Linked DNA regions of Homo sapiens: region 2 is linked to region 1. Evidence: promoter capture Hi-C in 16 types of primary human blood cells and fetal thymus (Javierre and others, 2016). All regions are on one chromosome and are shown on one strand. The core of a region is centred on a gene start or on the middle of the fragment in contact, and the rest is flanking DNA. Distances in the headings are between cores, read along the strand shown. Region 1 holds the start of SLC2A13 (solute carrier family 2 member 13). Region 2 overlaps ABCD2 (ATP binding cassette subfamily D member 2).

The links. The method cuts DNA at HindIII sites, captures the fragments that hold promoters and counts their contacts. A CHiCAGO score of 5 or more calls a contact.
Region 2: a contact is called between a fragment that was not itself captured here and the fragment with the promoter of SLC2A13 in region 1, in 8 of 17 cell types (total CD8 T cells, naive CD4 T cells, total CD4 T cells and 5 more). The highest score is 12.2, in total CD8 T cells.

Annotation. Positions count from the first base shown.
Region 1 is chr12:40,103,895-40,107,506 of GRCh38, reverse strand. SLC2A13 (solute carrier family 2 member 13) reads left to right here and starts at 1,426. Exons shown (of 10, transcript NM_052885.4): 1 at 1,426-2,254. The coding sequence starts at 1,699. RefSeq lists an enhancer at 103-272 and silencers at 1,273-1,522, 1,543-1,802, 1,823-1,892, 1,903-1,992. The HindIII fragment of the contact is 3,714 bases long and covers 183-3,612 here.
Region 2 is chr12:39,590,435-39,593,891 of GRCh38, reverse strand. All of the region lies in intron 6 of ABCD2 (ATP binding cassette subfamily D member 2), which reads left to right. Among named protein-coding and RNA genes, the nearest start is that of ABCD2, 28 kb to the left of the region's middle. The HindIII fragment of the contact is 3,787 bases long and covers 312-3,457 here.

The DNA.
Region 1 (3,612 bases), core at 177-2,676:
TTCCTTGTTGCTGGCAAGGAAAGTACTATATTGTAGAGATAATCGTGACTGATAATCAAAACGAAAGCAGTTTTGACAAATTCTAATATAAGTTTTTACTGAAACAGGAATGACAAAATCCTTTTGTCTGAAAGGAAAAAAGTTATAGCTGCATGAAAAATAGGCCCCAGGCTAAGAAAGCTTTTGCTCAAATAAGGGAAATAAAAGAGCAGTGGAATTGTAGGAATAGAATCATATGATGCTTGACTTTTTGCCCTCAGCCTGAAGAATGAAAGCAAATTAGAGGCACAAAACATCTTTAGCAGTCCCAGCTGCTAGGAAGGCTGAGGCAGGAGAATCGCTTGAACCTGGGAGGCGGAGGCTGCAGTGTGCCGAGATAGCGCCACTGCACTCCAGCCTGGGCGACAGAGCGAGAATCTGTCTCAAAAACAAAACAAAACAAAACAAACTATCTTTAGCCCCTGATGCGCAACTGTATATTTTAAAAACATTTAAATTAAAGGGGGAAACAAACCCCAAATGAACCAACAACTGTTAATTCACTCAACAGTTTAAAAAATTGGTTGCAAATAACGTTATCTTTGCTTTGTTTCAAGTAAATGAGGCTGTTAAAACAGTGCCTCATGGAGGGCAACAGTGGGGATTCTCAGGAGAGAAGCTATCCTACCTTTTGGTTAGCATGTTGGGGCGGGGAAATGGAGACTGCCTGCCGAATCACAAATCAGGGTCTTGAGTTTTCTTTCTATTTCTGGGAATTACCCGTTACATGAGTGGAATGCATATATGTGAATTTTCTTTTACAGGTCGGGGATCCATGGAAGGAGGGTTTGGGATTCACCACAGAGATATGTTCTCTGTCCTCAAAGAATCAAATGTACCATTCCTTTAAAATAAGCATAAATTGAGGAGGGACTGGCGATGAGAGTGGAAACTAGCTATAGAAATGGGAGCATGCAGCCCTGAATTGCTCCAGAACAAACACATTTAATGCCAGGGAAGTAGACCACGCTGGGTAATGTCACAATACTATAAAAGGAAGGGTACTTGCTAGGTCCTATTCTAGGATATTTTTTCCAGCCCTCTCTCTAGGCTGCTGGAAGGACAGTGAGGCTGGTTTAGGTGCTCTCTCCCTCCTCTCCAAACACGGCAAACATTCTGGGTGGCTTCCCGTCTGGAAGCCTGTTGCCTGATGGCATCGCCACATTGGCTTGCTCCACCGCTGCAGCTCGGAAGGCAGGGTTAATTCCATACGGTTGCCAGAGCCCTAAATGAGGGAGCCTAGGTCAGAGGTCGCACCCACCGGGAGGGCGGGGTTTAGGGGTCCGGGGCGGGCTGAGCCTGGCCCCGCCCAAGGAGGGGGCGGGACGTTTCCCGGGCCCCGCCCCGCCGGCCCGGGGTTGCACGTGACCCGCGGTCCCGCCTCCCGCCCGCTCCGCAGCGCCAGCTCGGCAGGCGCGGGGCGTGAGTGTGGAGTGAGACCCGCCGGGCTCCAACTCCGCAGCGTCGGAGCGCGGCGGGCAGCAACTTTCTCCCCGGAGCGGCCGTGGCGGCGGCTGCTGCCGTGGCAGCCGGAGCGGAAGCCGGGAGGAAGAAAGCGGCGGCAGCGGCGGTTGCTCCCGCCGGCTCGGGCTGTCTAGCTCGCCGAGACTGCCGGCCCGCGGAGCCGCGTCCCCCCGGGCAGCCCCGGGCCCCTGCCCTATGTCCCGCAAGGCAAGCGAGAATGTGGAGTACACGCTGCGGAGCCTGAGCAGCCTGATGGGCGAGCGGCGCAGGAAGCAGCCGGAGCCGGACGCGGCGAGCGCGGCCGGGGAGTGCAGCCTCCTGGCTGCCGCCGAATCGAGCACCAGCCTGCAGAGCGCGGGCGCGGGCGGCGGCGGCGTCGGGGACCTGGAGCGCGCGGCGCGGCGGCAGTTCCAGCAGGACGAGACCCCCGCCTTCGTGTACGTGGTGGCCGTCTTCTCCGCGCTGGGCGGCTTCCTGTTTGGCTATGACACCGGGGTGGTGTCAGGGGCCATGCTGCTGCTCAAGCGGCAGCTCAGTCTGGACGCGCTGTGGCAGGAGCTGCTGGTGTCCAGCACGGTGGGGGCGGCTGCCGTCTCGGCGCTGGCCGGAGGCGCCCTCAACGGCGTCTTCGGCCGCCGCGCTGCCATCCTCCTGGCCAGTGCCCTCTTCACCGCCGGCTCCGCGGTGCTGGCTGCGGCCAACAACAAGGAGACACTGCTCGCCGGCCGCCTGGTCGTGGGACTCGGCATCGGTGAGTTCGGGCTCCGTGAAGGGCGCCCGGGATCCCATTGTCACCGCCCTTGACCCTGGGTGTTGCGTGCCTCTTGCCCATCGGGGTCCCCGTCTGGTCTCCCAGGGTCAGAGAATCCTCCACTTCTCTGGCCTCCAGAGCCCATCTGTTTGTTGGTCCAGCCTCCAAGGCTCTCCCGGGAGGTGGGAGGGTCGGGGGGGAGGGGGTGTCACTCTAGTCTCCCTCGAGCGCACGTGGAATCTTTGATAGGCCACGGACCAGTCAGTCCAAGTGGTTGTTGCCTCTCAGCACTTCCAGAAACCTAGCTGAGCACCAGCTCTTTCCTTGATCCAGCCTAACCTGATGCTGCTTCTTGAGCTTACGAGGGTCTCTGCTTTCCTGCACTGTCCCACCTTGCCTCTCCACTGCTAGCCCCTTTCGTTTTCTGGGGCTCCCAGCCTGGAACCTAGACCATCGTCAAGTTACAGTGAGATAATATTTAGAGTTAAGTAATTCTGGACTCTGAAAGGTTTATTAGCGACCCCTGCCCTCTTTGCTTATCTAGCATTTGTCTTTAGATGGCATCTCCTTTTGCTTTTATGCTTTTTCTATTGCCTTTCAGCTTTCATTCTTTTCCCAAGTAAATTCCATTCTCCTCTGTTTTTCCAACTTTTTCATTTGAATCCTTTTTTATCCATTCTCCTCTTTGTTTTTCCTCTCCTGCTTTCCAGTTGGGAACCAAATTATCTATTAAAGGTCATATTCACTTCCTTAATTCATTTAGGAGCTACTCCCCCTGTGGATAAATGCCCCGCAAGATAAATGTTTGGAATTTACTTCAAAAATGAAGGCATTAAGGTTCTCCTGGCGTTGAATTTTTTTCACCCTGGTTGCTGAGCAGGGGAGGTACAATTGGCAAGTTTTTGGCAGAGGGAAGCTATTTGGAATGTGCTCTGTATTATTAGAAAGCACTTTTGAGGGAAAGTGGGGGGCTGTGACTTAAATCTCACTAGTAATTTTTCTAAGACACACCGCTGATGCTTTTTTAATGTTTCGTTTCATAATTCAGTTTTTTGTTTCCCTTAGGGTGCTGTTGAAGTATTTCTTCCCTATGGCTGGGGCTTGATGAAAGCGCTTTAAACCTGGGGCTGCTGCTGATCTGTGTATTCACCACTTGTTTGATGTTTGTGCTTTTCACCCTTTCTCTGTGGGTTCTGAAGGGAAGCAAAGGCCATATATTCAACTCCACATGCGGGAACCATGAGCCTAAAACCCAGCTCACTGCACTTTATATTCAAAGTTTGTCAGTAGTGACCTTCCTTTTGCTGTTTATTGTACTGTTAATTAGCAAAGGTAGGGCAAAGCTCTCCGTAACATAT
Region 2 (3,457 bases), core at 956-3,455, 510 kb after region 1:
CTCTACTCTTTCCTATTCTTCTAAAATTCATTTCTCCATAAAATTTTAAAGAATTTTTCAAAAATAGTCCCTTAATTTTAAATCAGAATTCTTGTTGAGATATAAAACAAGCAAACCTTAATTTTCAGGATGCATTATGGCTTAAAAAGATCATGACTTACCCTTTATGTCATCAAAAGAAGAGATTGTCGCTTGCAACAGTGAAGACGGTGTTTTATTTCAGAAGTTCTGCAGAAAGGGCTTGAAGGACGATAATACCAACATTGGCACAACTGCCCTGTGCACTAAGAAGTACTTGCACCAAATAAGCTTTATGGATATTTTAAAATATGAAGTTCTGGGCTGGGCCTGGTGGCTCATGACTGTAATCCCAGCACTTTAGGAGGCTGAGGTTGGATAATCACTTGAGGCCAGGAATTTAAGGTTAGCCCTGGCAACATAGGGGGACCCCGTCAATACAAATAATAAAAAAGTAGCTGGATATGGTGGTACTTGCCTGTAGTCCCAGCTACTTAAGAGGCTGAGGTGGGAGGGCTGCTTGAGTCTGGGAAGTTGAGGCTGCAGTGAGCCATGATTGCACCACTGCACTCTGGCCTGGGCAACAGAGTGAGATGCTATCTCAAAAGAATAAAAATAAAAATAAAACAAAAAAATAAAAGCTGTGAAGTTCCATTTTCTATTGTTTCTATATGAATGACTTCCAAATCTAAGATTTCTTCTTTGTAGGGATCAGGGAACTCTGTGTTATATATCAACATTGTTTAACCCACACATATAAAACCAGATGATGGCTATTAACTAGAAAGCATATGAGATCAGGTCAGAAGAACTGATTTGCCTCTTTTCTCTATGGAGGACAGAAAGGGTGCTGTTAAAGTATTCTCAGTGAGATCCTTGCTTTTTTTCTTTTTATCCAAGATCTCAGATTTTAAAAATGAGGATGTGGTCTGGAAAAGGATCTAAGCAAGAATCTGGGGTATGCTGTTTTAAATATCTTAATCTCAATTTTCCTATAGGTCTCTAGCTTTTGGACCTGTCAATTCTTAATGAATATCTAGCTGCCAAAAGGCAAACAGGGTGCACCTCTTGAGGACAAGGAGTGTGTTTATTTAAGAAAGAGGCAGACTAGCAGGCCACTGCCTGAGTGGAATATGGGTCTATAAAAGCCACTGGAATAAAGGAGGAATGTGATGTGGCTTAATCCAGAGCTCCTCACAGAACTCTATACCTATGTACTGTGCCAATGTGTATGTAGGTTACATATCTATTGTCCTGCTGCCCTCAAAGCAAAGAAATATGGCTTTGGGAGTAGGGGTTGTACTGGAACAGACTTTGCCCTTGTTGAGTCACTGTTGAACAAACTTTTATAGATTAAAAGCTAGAAAAGGCAACCACATGTCTCTGTACAGCACTGGTAGGATCCTAGTAAATATATTGTAATTGTGCAATAAATATCTGATAAGTGATTGACTGAATGAATGAACATCTCCACAGATTTGGTTTCTACTGCCAAGTCAATCTGGTACCTTACACTAATTATGAGCAATCTATTTATTTTGCTGCTTGCAGTAGGTATGTTGCAAAATTCTCTTTATGATGGGGATAAATATCTGTCATTTAACATGTCCTTTTTTAGAAAATTATTTTAACCACAAGGAAGGCTTAGTAGCATTGCTGTAGCAAATTGACTTCTATTCCTTGCTTTCTGACTGTTAGACTTACAGCCAAGTAATCTTTGTATAAATACCTTTGGGCAGTCAGTTGACAGAAATAGAAGTTGTACATTTTAGTTCCTCCTGTGTAGTAGTTGGTACAGTTCAGTTTTTTTAAATCTCTTTTAAAGAGATCTATAAATGTAAACACAATTTTCTATAGCTTTCTATGGCTTGGAAGAATGCTAAAGATACTTTTTAAAATCTTTAACTTTTCTAAGGGCTCATTTATAAAAGTAATAATGAAAAAACTCCCCTCTCACTCAAAAGTTTTTCTCATTTTATGAGTACTATTACATTAAACCATATGGAACTGCAATTTTTATAGGTCAAATATCAGCAATTTAAATGGTAATCTGATATAATGATAAATACTCTTAAAGTTGACTTTTACAGAAATTTGCATTTTTAACAGCTTAGCAATACTTTAATTCTTCCACTAATAATATATTTATTTATTTACTTATTGAGACAGTGTCTCACTCTATTGCCCAGGCTGGAGTTCAGTGACACAATCTTGGCTCACTGCAACCTCTGTCTCCAGGGTTCAAGAGATTCTTGTGCCTCAGCCTCCCAAGTAGCTGGGATTACAGGTGTGTGCCACCACACCTGGCTAATTTTTGCATTTTTAGTAGAGATGGGGTTTCACCATGTTGAGCAGGCTGGTCTCAAACTTCTGACCTCAGGTGATTCACCCAGCTTGGCCTCCCAAATTACGGGGATTACAGATGCGAGCCACTGCACCTGGCCTAATATTATTTTTATTACTTGGAAATAAACCTCATCCCTGCTCTTAAGAGGCTATTCTCATCTCTGTTTTGGAATCTAGAAATATCTTATCCAAAAGATATAATTTCAGTAATAGTAAATATCTATTTTCACTTGAATATTTCTTCTTATTATCACACATTTTTTAAGAATACTATAAATGACTCAAATCTAGTTCTTTCTATGCATGAAAAACCCTGATGCAATGATTGGTTCCAGCATGTATAGTTATGTGAATTATTGATAGTTAAATTTTATGCCTTTCAGATTGTTAACTTCTTTTGCTACGACAACACAGCAGTACTTAGTGGTACATTATTCTTAAACTTAACACATCTCATGCCTTAAATACAGTTAACATTGCTGCAAAATTTTTATCAATATTGTTCCAATTAAATTTTATATGATTACTTTAAAAATTTGTTTTCTCTGCATATAGGCCTTTCATGTCACACTTTTTTTTCTCCTCTGGATTTGAATTGGTTTTTTGCTCTCAATTTAGGAAATATTTAGAATTTTGTGTCATTCAGAAGCTCCAAGCACATAGATACAGCTAACACTTCTCAGTGCTTTCCCATTCTTTCTAGCTTTGTCTTAGAGAATAATAAAAAAGTAACTCTAACAAACATCAATACATTTTACCAAAAAAAAAAAATCACTGTCAGATTACTTAGATGTTAATGCAGAAAAGTGGGAATATAATGCAAAGTATAAAAGCACCTTGAGACATTAGTAACAAAACTATAAAAAGCCATAATCATGGGGAATGAATTTTATCTCAAATAATTTTACTATTATAATTGAATTTTAACTATATATACATTTGAAAGAATTGTAGATTCCCAAGAAAAAACAATTATTATAATTATTATAATTGTTTAAATAAGGATTATTTGTTAAATGATCCACATGTGACACCTATGGATTTATTTTGCTATCTTTTCCATAACATATAGAGATGATTCTGGGTTTTACTT